2 separate regions of the Homo sapiens genome follow, and region 1 is linked to region 2. Evidence: promoter capture Hi-C in human tissues and cell types (Jung and others, 2019). All regions are on one chromosome and are shown on one strand. The core of a region is centred on a gene start or on the middle of the fragment in contact, and the rest is flanking DNA. Distances in the headings are between cores, read along the strand shown. Region 1 has its middle 18 kb from the start of OR2A5. Region 2 holds the start of OR2A25 (olfactory receptor family 2 subfamily A member 25).

The links. Contacts are between HindIII fragments. The study calls those that stand out against the background at their distance.
Region 1: a contact is called between a fragment that was not itself captured here and the fragment with the promoter of OR2A25 in region 2, in 1 of the 25 tissues and cell types used here (hippocampus).

What each region holds. Positions count from the first base shown.
Region 1 is chr7:144,029,307-144,032,071 of GRCh38, reverse strand. No RefSeq gene overlaps it. Among named protein-coding and RNA genes, the nearest start is that of OR2A5, 18 kb to the left of the region's middle. RefSeq lists a silencer at 1,490-1,690. The HindIII fragment of the contact is 4,736 bases long and covers 1-2,765 here.
Region 2 is chr7:144,068,387-144,071,086 of GRCh38, reverse strand. It overlaps OR2A25 (olfactory receptor family 2 subfamily A member 25), which reads right to left and starts at 1,276. Exons shown (of 2, transcript NM_001386096.1): 1 at 1,191-1,276. The HindIII fragment of the contact is 18,133 bases long and covers 1-2,700 here.

The DNA.
Region 1 (2,765 bases), core at 225-2,724, 39 kb after region 2:
GAGAAAGATCTTGATCAGAATGGGGAAATGTGAAAGCTGCCGATACCAGGATGAAGTAACCAGTCAAACACACACAAATTGGGGTCAGGAGGGCATGAAGGAAAGGAACTCATGCTTACTTGTCTGAGATACACACACACACACACACACACACACACACACACACACAGTCTAAAGGACTTTAAAAAATAACCCCACGAGAAATTCTTGCATGTTTCTCATATATACACATACTTTTATGATAAGGTTTATCACTAAACATTCTTTAGGATTGCAGCAATTCCGATAAGATGTTCCCTTAACACTTGCCGAGTAATAGCATCTCCACCAATGAACCAATATCTCTGGCTTTGAGCCAATGAATCCAATGAACTCTATTTCTGAGCAGTTTACGTAAACTTCAACCATTGGCAATAAAAGTTTTCCTTTACTCTTCCCTCACTGTATTTGCCATAGTACATCCCAGATTATAATTCTCTTTATTTACTCCCAAATACATTTGTTTTGTTGGGAGATAATCTTCTCTGGTGTCTTTTTTTCTTAAATTGACACATGAAAAATGTGGAAGATAGGTGTAAGAGTGCTGATATGTTCATTTTCTAGAAAATTTAAGTCATAAAGTAAAAGTAGTTTAAGTTATAATTCAAGAATATTCTTCTGAAGTAAAAATTAGACATGAATCTAGATATTGAAAAGGCAAACTATGTCCTTGGGAAATTGACACAGAATGGAAGTATAATGATACATCCTAGTAATGTTACTAAATTTAAAATATAAAGAGAGAATCATGTGGTTAGCTAGGCAAAAGTAAAGCTACTTATAGAGTCAGTCTAGATTTGTACATTTTCATAGCAATATCCAATAGCATAGCTAAAGTTTGTGAAGGAACATTTACAAAAATCCTCCAGGAAAGAAAGTATCACACAAGTTTTTTACCCAGCCAAATGTTTGTACAAATGAAAAGACACAAATAGTATAGAACATAACAGAAACCAAAGAATGTCAGTCCCAGAAAATCAGTGACAGAAGTGGCAGTGAGCATTGAATCTTTTTATTTGTAGGACTGTGATGAAAGTAAATATGAGGACTTAGCTGGCAGGGCAGAATGCAAATGCCAAAAACATGACTTGAAAATATAGAAATAAGTACAAATGACAAAAAATGGAAGAAAAGAAGATAGGAGATTGTGTAATGCTGACTTCCTCATCTTTAATGTCTGAGAGCAAAAGTATTTCACTTAAATCTGGCAAATCAAGTAAAACAGATATAAGTACATTTAATTGATAAGAATAAATACTAAGAATGGTAATATGCTCAACTAAAATCAGATGAGAGAGGAGAGACAGGAAGGCAGGATAAAGAGTATATAGACAAATTCCATTATTGTCCATAACAGGTAATTACATTCATGTGGGAAGTAATTAATTCAATGTAAAGAAACAGAAGCTTAAGGATATTGCACAAAATTAGAGATCTAAAACATAACCTCCAGAATGAAACTTAAATCTTAAGTTAGAATGATCTTAAATCTTCAATGTTAGAATGACACAAAAAATAAAACATACAACACATGTTTTTTAAAGCTACAAATCCACCAAGCTTAACATAAAATCCAATGCTCTATCCTAAAATAAACATTTCAGTTATAAATAGACAAACTCACTTATTAAAGTAACTTAGAGTTTCGATATAAATAACAAAGTTCAATTTTACTCTGTTCACAAGAAACAGAGTTAAAGCAAAGAGATTTATAATATTTAAAAAGAAAAGCATGAGTAGTGGCATACTTTTTCTTTTTTTCTGTTTCTGTTTTTGGAAGTACTACATTGTTGACTTGTTAACATTGAACTCATGGTGTGCCAAAGGTTATTTAACACCTATATTTTCTCTGTAAAAGCACATCACAGCTTTCTTGTACTTAGGGACACTATGCAATACTTTAGTATTACACTTTTAAACAGTAAAATTATGAATTGTAATCTTAATATCAGAGTAAAGCAAGAATTGTAATCTTAATATCAGACAAAAAAGTTAATGTCATATAAGAGCATGTAATAAGACCAAATAATATAATTAACACAGCAGATATTATAGTTATAACTACATAAACTTCAAATGAAATAAAGTCAACCTTTATAAAGCAAAATCTAGAAGTGACTCAAGAGGTAATAGGAACATAGAACTAGCAGGAGTGAGGAATTCAACTGTTTTCACTCTGTATCAGATTATGGGAAAAAACACATAGAGGTCTAAATAGCATAATTAACAAAATAGATATAATTAATACTTCACAGTCTCTGAAACCTGAAAACAGACAATGAACCTTCTTCTTCTTTTCTTTTTTTTTTTTTTTTTTTTTTTTTTTTTTGAGACGAAGTTTTGTTCTTGTTGCCCAGGCTGGAGAACAATGGCGTGATCTCGGCTCACTGCAACCTCTGCCTCCCAGGTTCAAGCAATTCTCCTGCTTCAGCCTCCTGAATAGCTGGGATTACAGGCTCCTGCCACCACGCCAGGCTAATTTTTGTATATTTAGTAGAGACGGGGTTTCACCATGTTGACCAGCCTGGTCTTGAACTTCTGACCCCGGATAATCCACCCACCTCGGTCTCCCAAAGTGCTAGGATTATAGGCGTGAGCCACCGCGCCCGGCCGAACCTTCTTTTTAAATGCCAGTAGAAAACTCATAAGGAAAGGGAAAGAAAGAAAGGAAAGAAAAGAAAGAAAGAAGGAAGGAAGGAAGGAAGGGCCACATATCAAGCCTAAAA
Region 2 (2,700 bases), core at 27-2,526:
TAGGGTGGCCATAGTCAATAACTTCATTGTAATTTTAAAATAATTAAAGAATGTAATTCTTTACATTCACATTAAAGAATGTAATTGGATTACATTCACATTAAAGAATGTAATTGGATTTTTTGTAACTTAGAGGGTAAATGCTTGAGGGTCTGGGTGCCTCATTCCCTATGATGTGCTTATTTCACATTGCGTGCCTGTATCAAAACATCTCATATACCCCATAAATATATACACCTACTATGTACCTACAAAAATTTAGAAAAAAGGGACTCACAAATATGATAATTCTCATGTTTAAATAGCTCAGAAAAATGAATTTCATATTTTAAAACAAATCCTTTGTGTCACTCTTCTTCTTATGTAACATAAATCTAGTTTGCAGTCAATTAGGCCCATTGTTCTATAAAACCACTACTTAATTTCATGAGGCAATAGAAACATGAGGCAACCCCCCACAAACAACTATTTTACCTTACAATTTAAACAAGAAATTCAACACCAAAAGCATCAAAATAAATTATCTACATTAGGTATATCTGAAAGAGAAAAATGTTAAATTAGTCTAGTAGCTAAGTCTGTAAATAGCAGAAATTTGGCATTAACAGGTAAGAATTACAGTTTGCATTGTGATTTTTTATTACAGTGCTTCTGAAATTGTATAATAAATAAAGGTTGGATAATATAAAAACTTACATTTTACATCAGGATTAACAACTAAAAATGAGAAAACAAGGTGGATATGAGTTAGGTAAAGCTTCACAAATTAGTAAAAAGCATCTGTAAGCTAGTGTTGAAACTCTTTCATTCCAAAAAGATTATTGGGGGAAAAAAGTGCCCCAGTGGAGGTTGGATAGCTCTCAGAAGAGATGACGTTATTCTCTGCTTAGATCAACCATGCCTCAGTATGCTATGAAAGTGTGTTGCAGTGGAGAGATAAAGACCCATCACGCACACTGCCATCTGCTCCTGTCCTAGGGAAAAGGGCTCTCCCTGTACTTATCTCTCTGGTTTTCTCTGGAAGGATGTTGATGTCAAGATGTTGCTGCTGTTACTTTCTTCAGTCAGTGTAGGATTCATGATCAGAAATTTAAGCAGGAATACAATTACTTCCAGGACCTCTTCATACATTACAGATTCCCCAGGCTTATTTTAGTTTCAGGAACTCCAAAATATCCCCACCTACTAACCTTCCAAATAGATTCACTTGTTTTTAGGGCAGGTGGAACTCATATAGATTCAACCTTCCAAATAGAATCACTTGTTTCAGGGCAGGTGGAACCCATATAGTATTCCCATCCCATTTTGACTGAGTTTTATCTTCTGTGCAACCCGAACATATATTCTGTAATTTTTTCCATCAAATCTCCACAAGGAATCCAATTCCCAAAGTAGGACCAGGTAGCAAGAGCTATAGAAGCTGTGGGCAACATGTTAAGGGATCAGAAAGAAGGATAAAGCATCCCAGTGGGATTTGTTGAACCCTTTTTGTAAGATTTAACTGGAGCACAAACAAGGACAGTTCTTACCAAGAAGCAATCCCTGTTCTTTAATTTCTAGTGATTTTGAATGCAAGGGGAGTGTGAGGTGAAGTGAGGACGACCATAATCCCTGAGGTCTGTGACTATTACTATTTTCTCTGTCTTCTGAGAATGAAGAAATGAAAATGAACTGACCCTATTTTATAATTTCCGGAAATCCAGCTGAGACAATCCGATGGTGTCTTTGTGCTTTAAATTTTTCTTTTAGTCTTTTACCTAAATCCATTCTTATACTTAAATATAAAGGAGGCAGGATGTAATTTGCTAAATTAAAGTTTTTTTAATGTTTATGACTGCCAACTAAGAAAGTAAAAAAACCTATTATTTTAACCTTGAGAGAGCTCACCTGTAGCAGGTTTTAATGTGCTTTTCCCCATCAGACCTGTTCAGTAAGAGGCTTGTTGGTGATTGGTGTTCAGATTGTGTCCTCATATACTGAAAAGATGCTGCTTCCTCATATTGATGCCCAAGGGCATCTAATGCCTGGAGAGAAACAATCACTGTGACCCATATGTTGTCCACGGTCCAATTTATTAAATATATAAACTCATAAATTATATCTCTTCTTTTTCTATTTCTAATTTTATAAATATAAAAGCCTTCTATATGTCTTATAATTTTTTTGCCTAAAATTATATTTTATCTGAAAAAGATGTATTTTGTTTGATAATAGCAATGCTGAACTTGGTTTACTAACACTTAGGCTAATTTGCATTTATGTTCATTTTTGAGATTTGTTCAATAAATCACTTTTCTTCTACTGTACTTTTCTAGTTTTGTTATCATTGTTATACTAGCCCTATAAAGCAAGCTGGATTGCTGTACTTCTTTTGTCTATTCTCAATAAGTTTTACATAGTATGAAAATTAGCTGTTCCTTAAGGATCGGTAAAATTTGTCTTTAAAACTATATGGCATGGTGTTCTTTGATTAGAAGAAAATTCTGGTAACCAATTCAATTTTTTGAACATTAAGGTTTTGGATTTTCTACTTCTACATAAGGCAGTGTAAGTAATATTTTCCAAATATTTTTTATTTTTCCATAAGTCATTTGGGTACAGGTGGTATTTGGTTACATGGGTAAGTTTTTTAGTGATCTGTGAGATTTTGGTGCACCCATCACCTGAGAAGTATACACTGCGCCTTATTTGTAGTCTTTC